Linked DNA regions of Homo sapiens: all the other regions are linked to region 1. The links are contacts of gene promoters, found by promoter capture Hi-C in blood cells and fetal thymus (Javierre and others, 2016). All regions are on one chromosome and are shown on one strand. Each heading gives the region's core, a stretch centred on a gene start or on the middle of the fragment in contact. The rest is flanking DNA. Distances are from core to core; before and after follow the strand shown. Region 1 holds the start of KRT37 (keratin 37). Region 2 overlaps KRT40 (keratin 40). Region 3 holds the start of LOC124904002 (a long non-coding RNA gene).

Region 1 (4,460 bases), core at 625-3,124:
TACCTTTTCTATGTTTAGATACACAAATATTATCGTGTTAATAATAGTTGCCTATGATACTCAGTACAGCAACATGCTGTACAGGTTTGTAGCCAGGTGCTATAGGCTGTGCTATACAGTCTAGGTGTGTAGTAGGCTCTACCATCTAGGTTTGTGTGAGTTCCCCCTATAATGTTTCCACAGTGAAGAAATCTCTTAACGACGCATTTCTCAGGACGCACCCTGTCTTAAATGATGCATATGTTACAAACTAGCGTAACTTTTTTTTTCTTTTTTGAGACAAAGTGTCAATCTTGTTGCTCAGGCTGGAGTGCAATGGCGCAATCTTGGCTCACGGAAACCTCCGCCTCCCGGGTTCAAGCAATTCTCCTCCTCAGCCTCCTGAGTAGCTGGGATTACAGGCATGTACCACCATGCCCGGCTAATTTTATATTTTTAGTAGAGACCGGTTTTCTCCATGTTGTTCATGCTGGTCTCGAACTCCTGACCTCAGGTGATCCGCCTGCCTTGGCCTCCCAAAGTACAGGGATTACAGGCGTGAGCCACCGCGCCCGGCCTAGTTTAACTTTTTAAAGTGCATTTTCTTGTTGTCACTGCCATAGTATTTAAATCTTTTCCTTTGCTGGAACACAAAGACCTTCAGTAATTTTCTTTTCACCACAATTTCTCATCCAGTAACTAAGCCCCTTCTTGCCCTCTCCTTAGGCCCAGCACTGACGGGGCAATGACACCGTTGTTCTCACCGGGGGCCATGATGAAGTGAAAAGAGAATGGGCCTAGCAGACATGAGACTGAATCGAGCCTTTGCCAGTTCACTAACTGTCAATCAGAAAATGTGCAAATGTACTTCACTCTAGTTTTCTCATCTGTACATTGAGGCAATGAGTAACCACCTCATAGGTGGTAAGGGTTAGATAGGAAAGAACACAGTAGAATGCCTAGCACACCTAAGTACTCAATCAATGTTAGTTCTGGACCTTTCATTTGAATACTGCTTGAGCTCTGTGCCCAATCTCCCTTTCCTGGATCAAATAAGATTTTTCTTTGTTAGTGATTTCTTTCTAGATACTTCCTTGGCCAGAACTATAGATCCTCTGTCTTTCACTAACTCTTGTTGATCTATGGTTCTCATTCAAGTTTGTGTAGAACATCCAGAGATTTCAGAGGCATTGTTTACTCCTGATGAACAGGGAACATTGCGTGTCCAGGAACCAGCACACTGCCTGAGTTATGGGGGATATTCAGGAAGCATGCTGAACCAATGAATGAATGAACAAATGAATGAATAGCTGATTCTGACTAGTCAACCAAAACTTAATTAGCGCCATTGCTTCCAGATGTTATTGCTTCTCAAGGGAGTATGCAATGTGAAAGAAGAAAGAAAAAAAGGCGCCTCTCAATCGTCAAATATCAGTAGATGCATTGGTTTTATTAACTGATATTTTCTCTTCAAAGGAAAGGCTGATTCAGTCTTGCACAGGCGAAAGATCCAGTGGGTCCCATTGGTTCTCTGTGTCTCCTGCTACACAAATTACTGACGGAAAGATTTGAGCCTTCATTGTGACCACATCCACAGAGACCATAGTCCAGAGAGAGCAATTGGGGCCTGAATCAACTGCTGGTGTTTGTTGAGCAGAAACAGTGAGTCTCTGACTTCCCACCAACAGCTAACCTGATATGGAAGAGCCAAGAGGCATCTCAGATTTGTCAACATTGCTTTAATGAGCTGAGGAACTTCTCATGGTAAACTCAGCAGCTGAGTAACAGGATGATGGCACCACAACAGGTAGATAATCAAGGCAGGAGGTCAAAGCACTGGAGCCAACACCCGCCCAGGATGGGGTATAAAAGGGTTGGGAGGAGAGGAGGCTTCAGTCTCAGTGGCTCAGCCTTCCCAGCTGATCTGAAGCTCCTGTGCAGCCTCAGCCCTACACCATGACCTCCTTCTACAGCACCTCCTCATGCCCTCTGGGTTGCACCATGGCTCCTGGAGCAAGAAATGTCTTTGTCTCTCCTATCGATGTTGGGTGCCAGCCTGTGGCAGAGGCCAATGCTGCCTCCATGTGCCTCTTGGCCAACGTGGCACACGCCAACAGAGTCCGTGTGGGGTCGACTCCCCTGGGCCGCCCCAGCCTCTGTCTGCCCCCAACCAGTCACACTGCTTGTCCCTTGCCAGGGACCTGTCACATTCCCGGCAACATCGGAATCTGTGGGGCCTACGGCAAAAACACCCTGAATGGCCATGAGAAGGAGACCATGAAGTTCCTGAATGACCGCCTGGCCAACTACCTGGAGAAGGTGCGCCAGCTGGAGCAGGAGAATGCAGAGCTGGAGACCACACTCCTCGAGAGGAGCAAGTGCCACGAGTCCACCGTGTGCCCCGACTACCAGTCCTACTTCCGTACAATCGAGGAGCTCCAGCAGAAGGTGAGGTGTGGGATCGCCTGGGCATGCTGGGTCTGAGAAGGCAGAAGCCTTCGCAGGAGGAATCTGCATAAGGTCCAGAGAGCTTTGGGTTCTTGGTTTCTCTTGGACATGAGCGTAAATACCACACATGGAGTGGGAGCTTAGAGTATGGTGCTTTGTGTGTGAACCGTCTTTCCGTTTTCCTCAGATCCTGTGCAGCAAGGCTGAGAATGCCAGGCTGATTGTACAAATTGACAACGCGAAGCTGGCTGCTGATGACTTTAGGATCAAGTAAGTCAGGATGAGGAGGGTCAGTGTGACTTCTCTCCTGCTGTATTTCCAAGGGCCCGCCCCATTACTCAGTCTATATTGTAGGTGTTCAAAAACAGTTTTTGACTAGAAGAATATTTCTCTCCACACCTTAAATTAGCCTGTTGCTAGAAATGGTCATTATATAGGAGGAAAGAGAATATAAGCATTGAAAGAAAAAGAAGGGCTGTAGTCTAGATTGGTTAGAACCTATGTCACTTTCTCCCATATCTAGAAGATAAGAGGATTTTGCTTTTCAATCAGAAGTAAAATTGAGTCATCACAAAAATAAACTGTCAATGCATAGGTTGTTGCTAGACTCTCTGACTCTTGGCCAAATCCATCAGCTGGAGGAATTGTCATTGAAGCTCCTTGGTAGCTAGAGTTGTGCTTGAATGAAGGGGAAAAGCAAGAAAACAACGAGAAATAATGAATCCAAGAGGAAAAGCAGCAAACTGAAGGTCCAGAGGCTTATTTTTAGCCATTCTTTTTCCTGGCCAAATGACTCCTATTATGGCAGAATAAATGCTGCATTTGAAGTCAGAACACTTAGGATGAGTCCATGCATTTACTATTAACTGGGCATGGAATTCTGAACAACTCGTGTTTTGTTTCTGAGCCTCAGTCTTCCATCTGGTCAATGGGCATAATGTCCTGACTACAAACCGTGTCGCTGCAGGGTTGAGAATAGTGTATACTGCCCACGTGAACAAATAAGGATCCAAGGTGGTGTGGGAGGTAGGAAGCCAGGGCAGCTGAGAGGGGCTATTGGGGCATTCTTTTTGACCCTGTGCCTCCTGTGACGGAAGGCTGGAGAGTGAGCGCTCCCTTCACCAGCTGGTGGAGGCGGACAAGTGCGGGACGCAGAAGCTCCTGGATGACGCGACCCTGGCCAAGGCCGACCTGGAGGCCCAGCAGGAGTCCCTGAAGGAGGAGCAGCTCTCCCTCAAGAGCAACCACGAGCAGGTGTGGCCCTGGCTGCTCAGACTCCTGGGGAGGGCGCTGGGCAGACAGGGGAGCTCCCCGGCCCTGGGGCTCTCAGAGCATTGCCTGGGCTCAGCTGGCCTAAGGATGCAGGGCTGAGGTGGGTCTGAGGGTCCAGAGGGCCTCTGTGGAAAGTGCAGACTTGCCTTGGGCATGAGGAAGGTGTCCAGGTGGGCTCTCCCAAATGCACTCTGGACAAGACTTTCCCATTTGCTTATGTGTGGGACTCCCCTCCTACTGCTTGCCAGGGACGGAGTCCTGGTGCTGTCTGCTCCATCAAAGGCCGTTTCCTTACGCAGGCTGTCTATCGCTTCCATTTCTGCAGGAAGTAAAGATTCTGAGGAGTCAGCTGGGGGAGAAGTTCCGGATCGAGCTGGACATTGAGCCCACCATTGACCTGAACAGGGTGTTGGGGGAGATGCGGGCTCAGTACGAGGCCATGGTGGAGACCAACCACCAGGATGTGGAACAGTGGTTCCAAGCCCAGGTGAGTGGGGGTTACAGAGCCAGGGAGTACCTGGCCTCCATCTGAGCAGGGAGGTGACTGTGTTTCTCTGTGCTCCAGTCTGAAGGCATCAGCCTGCAGGCCATGTCCTGCTCCGAGGAGCTGCAGTGCTGCCAGTCGGAGATCCTGGAGCTGAGATGCACGGTGAATGCCCTGGAGGTGGAGCGCCAAGCCCAGCACACCTTGGTACGTGTCCTTCACCCTCACTGCACTGCAAATGCCCCATGCCATGTCCTGGTAGTAGCATCTCTTAAAG
Region 2 (4,460 bases), core at 502-3,001, 440 kb after region 1:
ACCTAGCTAATTTTTGTATTTTTAGTAGAGACAGGGTTTCACCATGTGGGCCAGGTTGGTCTCGAACTCCTGACCTCAGGTGATCTGCCCGCCTTGGCCTCCCAAAGTGCTGGGATTACAGGCATGAGCCACCACGCCCGGCTTTAATTTTAATTTGAAAATAACTTATGGCTCTCTCTCTCTCAATCTCTCTCTCTCACACACACACACACACACAAATATTCTCTATATAATATTTTAAAGTTAAGAATGTTTTAAAAGCTTGAATTTATCATTACTTAGGAATTAAGAGAAATTATGCACATGGCTTCCTGAAGTCCGTGTGTCGATCCTCCATGTATCCCCACACTTTGCACAGCGTTCAGCAAAGTAAGCGTTGGATTTCTCTTTTGCTGTGAAAGGTACGAGAGTGAACTGTCCCTTCGCCAGCTGTTAGAGGCTGACATCAGCAGCCTGCATGGGATCCTGGAGGAACTGACCCTGTGCAAATCTGATCTGGAGGCCCATGTGGAGTCTCTGAAGGAAGATCTCCTTTGCCTTAAGAAAAACCATGAAGAGGTAAGGAAAGTGGCAACTCCGCTGAAGGACTCCGAGAGTAACGTACTTACATTGACAGATGATCTGTTGATGTTTGTAAATCGAATTTGGGCAGATGTTGTTTAAGCTGGAATAAAACTACTTGAGGCAGGGCCAGGCATGGTGGCTCACACCTGTAATCCAAGCACTTTGGGAGGCTGAGGCAGGAGGATCACAAGGTCAGGAGTTCGAGACCAGCCTGACCAATATGATGAAACCTCATCTCTACTAAAAATACAAAAATTAGCTGGGCATGGTGGCAGGCGCCTGTAGTCCTAGCTACTCGGGAGGCTGAGGCAGGAGAATCACTTGAACTCAGGAGGCGGAGGTTGCAGTGAGCCGAGATCTTACCACTGCACTCCAGCCTGGGTGACAGGGCGAGACTCCATCTCAAAAAACAAACAAACAAACAAACAAACAAAAACTACTCGAGGCATTATTACTATTCAACCTGATCATTCCAGTGTGTCTCTGATTTAAGGTGTGAAATAACCCCTAGACAGCGCCAGAGGAAGGAATCAAACTCTTCTCCTGCCCTTGCCTTTGTGGAGGAGGTAACTTCACAAATGGCTTCCTTTGGAGGCTTTATGCCACCCCTAGCTCCAGTCCACAGGGTATGAAAATCAGGCTGAGGAACAGACTGTGAAGTCCATTTCAAAAAAGGGATAAAGACTGTGCACTATCTGGACCAGTGTTTTTAAATATTCCGCATTTATAAACTTCTAAAAATCATAAAATATACAGCCACTGATATATTGATAAAGCTAGAAAATGAAAAGCTGAATGATGTAACAAAGTACATTTGCTCTTTGAACGTTTGTTGATGACAATCATAGCTAACATTTATTGACACCTTACTATGTGTCATAATTAACTTTTATAAGTTAATTATGTGTAGATTGACTCTTCTAGATCTCACAATAACTTTCTGGAAAAATGTCCAATTATTATGTCCATTTTACAGACGAAGAAACTGAGGCCCTTCTAAGTGGTGAAAAGAGATTCAGCCCAGGCAATCTGAATCAAAATCTCACACTTTTACCCACTGCTCCAAAAAACAGAAGTAGAATGCCATTGGATGTCAAATGGATTTTTCCCCACCATTCTGTGACATTCTTTACACCATCCCACTTTCAGGAAGTCAACTTGCTTCGTGAACAGCTTGGCGACCGCCTCAGTGTGGAGCTGGACACTGCCCCCACCCTTGACCTCAACAGGGTCCTGGATGAGATGCGCTGTCAGTGTGAAACGGTGCTTGCCAACAATCGCAGAGAAGCTGAAGAATGGTTGGCTGTTCAGGTCAGTACCCAGATTGAAAAAATGTCAGGCTTACAGACTTCTGCCTTTTTTGAATTCTCTAATGGTGTCTGTGTTTCAGACAGAAGAGCTGAATCAGCAGCAACTGTCCAGCGCGGAGCAGCTGCAGGGCTGCCAGATGGAGATCTTGGAACTGAAACGCACAGCCAGTGCTCTGGAAATTGAGCTCCAAGCACAGCAAAGCCTGGTGCGTGAGGCAAAGGCAGTGTCCGTTGTGTCACTGATAAGTCAGGCCCTGAGATGTTAAGCCCTCTTCCATATCCGAGGATCACATTTCCTTGCCTTTCCCGAGTACTGCCGTTTACCCAGCTATTAATAGAAGCAGAAGTGACAGGTCCACAGCTTGTCCTCTAAGATGCCTTACCTTCACTCCTGGGCTTGAGTCTGATGCTGCAGCAGCCTCCAGAGACAGGGAGGGAGAAGCAGAGCTGGAGAGAAACCTCCGGGCCATGGTCGCTTAAGCATTCTGGCAGGTTTTAATTCTCATTTGATTCAGGCCAGTTTTCCAGGCTCACTGTTATATCTAAAACAAAGAATCATTTTCAAACATTTCATCCTACAGTTTCCCAGGATCTACACTTCAACCTTATCCTTCACTGCACCACCCCCCACTCAAGCAACAGGAACACCATGCGTTCAAGATGACATGAACCAGTTCTGGTCAAGCACCACTGTGTGCATGTCATTAGGCCCTGCGGAGAACACCTAGAAGAACAATAGCTGAGCATTCATCCTGTGAGAGGCACTATGCTGATTTAAGGCTCACAGTAACTTTACCGGATAGATACCTTTATCCCATGACACAGATAAGGAAAACTGAGACTCAGATTAAGTAACTTGCAAAGGATGCAATTCTAAGAGGCAAACTTGGAAGCTGAGTTCAGCCAGTTGAATCCCAGAGTCTCTTCTCTCTCTCTTTTTAAATTTATTTTTATTGATATATAATATGCGTAAATTTTTTTTACGTAGATGTGATATTTTGTTACATGCATAGAATGTGTAATGATCAAGTCAGGATATTTAGAGCATCCATCACCTCAAGTATTTATCATTTCTATGTGTTGGGAGCATTTCAAGTCCTCCCATCTAGCTATTTTGAAATGCACAGTGTATTGTTGTTAACTGTAGTCACACTTCTCTGCTGTCCAACATGAAAACATATTCTTTCTGTCTAACTGTATGTTTGCACCCATTAACCAACCTCTCTTCATCCCCTTACCACACATATGCCAGTCCCAGCCTCTGGTATCCAGAGCCTCTTCTCTTAATAGCACTATACTACCCCTCCCTGCCAAGAGCCCAAACTCAATCTTTCCTCTCATATGTTGTGGATAGTCCTTAAGCTTCACAAATATGTCATGTATTGCTGTAGTCATAGTGGTGGTAGTGATAGTTGACACGTAGAACAGTGGCAGTATGGCTGGCACTGTTCTAAATGCTTTACGCACATTAACTCTTTTTTTTTTTTTTTGGACGGAGTCTCCCTCTGTCGCCCAGGCTGGAGTGCAATGGCATGATCTTGACTTACTGCAAGCTTTGCCTCCCGGGTTCACACCATTCTCCTGAGTAGCTGGGACTACAGGCGTCCACCACCGTACCCAGCTAATTTTTTATATTTTTAGTAGAGACGGGGTTTCACCGTGTTAGCCAGGATGGTCTCGATCTTCTGACCTTGTGATCCGCCCGCCTCGGCCTCCCAAAGTGCTGGGATTACAGGCCTGAGCCACCGCGCCCAGCCCGCATATTAACTCTTAATCTTCACAACCGTCTAATGAAACAGATACTTTGTATTCTCCACTATACAGAGAATAAAACTGAGACTCACAGAAGCTAAATAATTTGCCAGTGGTCACATAGCTAGAAAAGGGTAAGCAGGAATTTGAAAGTAGGCACTCTGGCCCGAGAGACTGCACTTCATGGTCCTTTGGACAATGTTTCCTCCCGCAGACAGAATCTCTGGAATGCACCGTGGCAGAAACCGAGGCCCAGTACAGCTCCCAGCTGGCCCAAATTCAGTGTCTGATCGATAACCTGGAGAACCAGCTGGCCGAGATCCGCTGCGACCTGGAGCGACAGAACCAGGAGTACCAGGTGCTCCTGGACGTGAAGGCCCGGCTGGAGGGTGAGATCAACACGTACTGGGGCCTGCTGGACAGCGAGGACAGCAGGCAAGTTCCACAGTTACTCATGAAATCCCCCAGAGTCACAAAGAGGCTGATGTAAAAGAATCCTGTTTCCCCAAAGTCTGGACAAGTTCAGACCTCCCCAGTGTGTTTAGGGATCTTCTTAAAAAAGTGCTGAAAAGTGGCTGAGGTTAAGAACATGACACTAGAGATATTTTTAAAATATTCTAAAGGCAGATTAATTATTAGTGTAACATTTCATGCTGGCATCTCCCTTTGTTCCTGTTTTCCACTAAAGGAAAATCAGGAATAGGCCTAAGATAACATTTGCAAAATCAAGAAAAAATATAAAATACTATTCAACTGCCACTGCTACAGTGAACATGAAGTGGCAATTCTGGGTGCAGAGAAGAAACAGGCTTCAGTCAATGCTATTGTGCAGAG
Region 3 (4,460 bases), core at 687-3,186, 320 kb after region 1:
TTAAAAAGGAATTGTTTACCTAGATTATTTATGAAAACTGCAATAGTCATCATTTAAAGTTATGGAACTGCCATTGCAAAATTATAACTGAGACAGTGAAAAAGATCTGACCTAATTGACTCCATCTTGCTTCTAACCTCCAAACTGTTCTTGTTCAATCCTGGGCACAGGCTGAACAGACGTTGAGAGGAACATAGTTTATAGTTTACCTTTGAAACAAAGATTATAACAGTTCATTCTCAAACTAAATCTTACTGCCTGTGGACTAGACCACCAAAACCACAAAATTAGAAGTTACAGTAATCTCACTAAATTCAAGATGTGACTATTTTTATTAAACCAATATCAATGTCTTATTTATTAAAGATTATACAAGCAAAGATCATTCTATTACAGTTTTGTAACTCCATGGCAAATTTTGACACCTTATGGTATTTGACAGGGATAAGCATGAAATTGCTTGATTAATAAATGCAAACAAAAATGCATGCTGGCAATTTTTAAGACATGTCTAATATTACTTTACCAATAATTTTAAAGCTAGCTTATTTATTAAAGATTTTACTTGTTACATAAACTTCAGAAAGCATTCAACTAGTCTTTTCTTTTTTCCTGATAAAGTATTAGATTCAAGTGCTTTTTATCTTAAGCCAATTAATTAGAACTCTTTTATATATTTTCAGTAGCGAGAAATTGTGTACACATCACATAAATATATAGACATAGTAGGCATGCTGATAGAAGTACATCGTATAGATACTTAAGGAGCTTTTTTCCCCTATCTTAGGCTTTCAAATTCTTAATAACCTGTTTTACTCCCCTAGGGAGTTGTCAGCTAAATAGCCTTAAGTTTGCATGTTAAAGGAAACAACTCAGGCAAAAATCAAATAGCAAAATTATATCATAAGGTACAGAGAGAAAAAGTCTGGTGGTGCTAGAGGGAAGTCAAAATGGATTTAATTGCCAATTAAACATAAAATTATAAAAATTATAAAGGCCTTTTAAATAGATACACACACACACACACACACACACACAAACACACACACAGAAATCCTATAGCTTTTACTTCAGAACTTTAGCCATGAGACAAATACAAATTCACCAGGTTGCAAACAAAAAGCCTGTTGTATCCAAACAGTGGTTTTGATCTTAATAGAAAAATAACAGCAGATTTAAAGCAGGCAGAAAAGAAAATAGAGAAAAAAGAGAACTTAGGAACTCTGTAGTTTGTAGGTTGACCTTAAGGCTCTTCTTTTCTTTCTTTTTCTTTTCTTTCTTTCTTTCTTTCTTTCTTTCTTTCTTTCTTTCTTTCTTTCTTTCTTTCTTTCTTGCTTGCTTGCTTTCTTGCTTGCTTGCTTTCTTTCCTTCTTTTCTTTCTCTTCTAAAAAAAAATGAAATACACATGCAGGAGAACGTGCAGGTTTGTTACATAGGTATATGTGTGCCTTGGTGGTTTGCTGCACCTATTGACCCATCCTCTAAATTCCCTCCTCTCATTCCCCACCCCCCAACAGCCCCTGATATGTGTTGCTCTCCTCTCTGTGTCCATGTGTTCTCAAAGTTCAACTCCCATATATGAGTGAGAACATGTTGTATTTGGTATTCTGTTTCTGTGTTAGTTTGCTGAGGATGATGGTTTCCAGCTTCATCCATGTCCCTACAAAGGACATGATCTCACTCCGTTTTATGGCTGCATCGTATTCCATGGTGTATATGTACCACATTTTCTTTATCAAGTCTATAATTGATGGGCGTTTGGGTTAGTTCCATGTCTTTGCTCTTGTAAATAGTGCTGCAATAAACATACATGTGCCTGTGTCTTTATAGTAGAATGATTTGTATTCCTTTGGGTATATAACAAGTAATGGGATTGCTGGATCAAATGGTATTTCTGATTCTAGATCCTTGAGGAATCACCATACTGTCTTCCACAATGGTTGAACTAATTTACATGGGCCCTTTCTTTCTTAATGTAAATATGCACAAAGACCATATTACTTCCATTTTACTTAAACTCTGGCAAGTACAGGTGCCATAAAACCTATGGAGTGCTTGAAAGGGAATCATTCTCTTTGCTTTCTCCTCATTCTTAGATTATTTGTTTCCCAGTTTTCTTCTTAAAAAGAGGAACTGAGCTGAGGCCTAGAGGTTTTCTGTGGTGGATCAATATGTGCCATTTGTGGGCAGGACTCCACAGTGGGTCACCACTGAAAACAACAGTTCAGTTCCTCATGCAAATGCACACAGACAAGCTGAATTGAGCTTAATTTGGGGAGAAAAAGCAACAGAGAAGATCCTTTAGAATGCATTTGTGAACTAGAATTAGGATCTTTAAACGACAAATTCCTAGAAGGAAAACAAAACAACAGCCAAGACCACTTTTTGTAAACCTTGCTCAGCCACCCCTTAACTTTGTAGCTCTCATCTACCACTATACACAACAAGGTCAAAGCCAAAGAGGTCAGGTCATGCAATACAGGAAAATAGAGGTTTAGAGTTAAGAAGAATCTACCCATGACTCTTGAAACTCCACAAAGAAAACAAAACACCCCAAAAGGGGTGAGTGGCAACCTTTGTTCTGAATTCTTTAAGGGGGTTCAAGTCATTAGAAGCCTTCTCTAGACTTTTTGGTACTGCATATGGCAAAGGGGGAGGAGGTATATGGTGCAAGAAAAGTAAACGAAAGAACATTCGTGTTTTAAGACAGGAAGCAAACACAGAAACCAAGTGCATGGGTTTTTGGTTCTTTTTGTTTGTTTTCTTCTTTTGCAGCTGCAATGAATTTTAGCCAAATTAGAGAGGTTTTGTTACCCGTAATTTTGAATTCTCACTTGGATTTGACCAAGTCAGGTAGAGTTGGTCAAGTCTGATGGGAGAAAGACCAAAACAAACAACAAAATCTCCAACCATAGGATTACCAAGCACTCTAATGATAAGGAGAAATTAAGAGCAGCTAGCTGGTTGTTAAACTTTAGCCCAGACAAAGCCCCAGTTCAGCTACTTACCTAGGGATGGGTCTCAGGCTGAAGGCTGCTTTCTACCACCCTAGAAGCAGGAAAAAAACTCAAACTGGTCTTCCCTGCTGGGAGTGAGCTCAAACTCTACATGCCTTTCATCATCATGGAAGCAGGAAATCTTGCCTTCCTTGTAAAGGAAGTAAAAGTAAATCTTGCCTTCCTTATAAGGAAGGCAAGTAAGCAAGTAAAACTCCAAAAACAAAAATAGGTGGGGCAGTTGTACAGCAAAATGAACTTTAGTTCTTCACCAAATTTGGGGAGATCAGGGATTCTTTGGGGAGGGTGCTCCCAGACCTCAGCAAATTGTCCTATTGATTTGAGCCATAAAGTTAGCTCATGCTATTACCAGGCACCAACAGGATATTCGTCAAAGGTCAAGGGCATCTCCACTCAGAATCCTTTCACAGTTACCAAAATGTTAACCCAGAAAATCTGAGACAGGTCTCAGTTAATTGAGAAAGTTTATTTTGCTAAGGTTGAGGATGCTCCGGTGACACAGCCTCAGGAAGTCCTGATGACATGTGTGTAAGGTGGTCAGATAACACTTTTGTTTTATACATTTTAGGGAGACATGAGATATCAATCAACATATGTAAGATGAACACGGATTTGGTCCAGAAAAGGCAAGACAACTCGAAGCAAAGGCGGGACAACTCGAAGCTGGGAGGGGGCTTCCAGATCATAGGTATATAAGAGACAAATGGTTGCCTTCTTTTGAGTTTCTGATTAGCCTTTCCCAAGGAGGCAATCAGTGCATTTATCTCAGTGAGCAGAGGGGTGACTTTGAATAGAATGAGAGGCAAGTTTGTCCTAAGCAGTTCCGAGTTTGCCTTTTCCCTTTAGCTTAGTGATTTGGGGGCCCCAATATTTATTTTACTTTCACAGCCTCCTAACCTTATTTATCCTGCCTCATGTTTAAGAAGGCATCATAACTCTATGACTGAGATCTGGACAACATTTTTCTTAAGGCATCTGAAAAAATATGAAGCTTATTTTTCATATTTGAACATATCTGAACAAATCATCTTAAACTTGATTGGCTCAATAGCTTAAGGCCATTTCAGAGCTGATAATAGTCAAATAAAAGTAAAAACATCAAGAGCAGGTGCTCCTACTAGAATGCCAAGTTATAGTCACTTACCATATTCTTTCAGATTCAAATGAAGGCACCTCTCTTGGAAATTCTAATTAGGATATGCACCCCAGCTGCGACCTACTCAAGACTGAACTAATTCCAATAAAATAATTCTTAAAAAGAAAAGCGAGCCTTGAAATTTTCATCCTTTCTGGGTTTATATATATTAAAATGTTAAGTGTGGAGTTGTTTAAATTATAATGTAAACCCGTAGAGACCACAGTCAGCAATATACCATGCTATCCAGATGAACTACAGCTCAATATGCTTTTTTGTCTCAGCAGAACTCACTGGGAAATAAAGCC

What was found. Contacts are between HindIII fragments. The CHiCAGO score rates a contact against its expected background, and 5 or more counts as called.
Region 2: a contact is called between a fragment that was not itself captured here and the fragment with the promoter of KRT37 in region 1, in 10 of 17 cell types (total B cells, total CD4 T cells, activated CD4 T cells and 7 more). The highest score is 7.1, in total B cells.
Region 3: a contact is called between a fragment that was not itself captured here and the fragment with the promoter of KRT37 in region 1, in 3 of 17 cell types (total CD4 T cells, naive CD8 T cells and naive CD4 T cells). The highest score is 6.6, in total CD4 T cells.

Annotation. Positions count from the first base shown.
Region 1 is chr17:41,421,999-41,426,458 of GRCh38, reverse strand. It overlaps KRT37 (keratin 37), which reads left to right and starts at 1,874. Exons shown (of 7, transcript NM_003770.5): 1 at 1,874-2,427; 2 at 2,615-2,697; 3 at 3,525-3,681; 4 at 4,025-4,186; 5 at 4,265-4,390. The coding sequence starts at 1,936. The HindIII fragment of the contact is 11,234 bases long and covers 1-4,460 here.
Region 2 is chr17:40,978,405-40,982,864 of GRCh38, reverse strand. It overlaps KRT40 (keratin 40), which reads left to right. Exons shown (of 7, transcript NM_001389244.1): 3 at 402-558; 4 at 1,714-1,875; 5 at 1,955-2,080; 6 at 3,841-4,061. It overlaps LOC107985072 (a long non-coding RNA gene), which reads right to left. Exons shown (of 4, transcript XR_001752886.2): 3 at 2,258-2,416; 4 at 1-537. Among named protein-coding and RNA genes, the nearest start is that of KRT40, 3.7 kb to the left of the region's middle. RefSeq lists an enhancer at 2,258-2,859. The HindIII fragment of the contact is 2,975 bases long and covers 264-3,238 here.
Region 3 is chr17:41,106,928-41,111,387 of GRCh38, reverse strand. It overlaps LOC124904002 (a long non-coding RNA gene), which reads right to left and starts at 3,156. Exons shown (of 2, transcript XR_007065754.1): 1 at 3,009-3,156; 2 at 1-1,384. The HindIII fragment of the contact is 4,149 bases long and covers 1-4,010 here.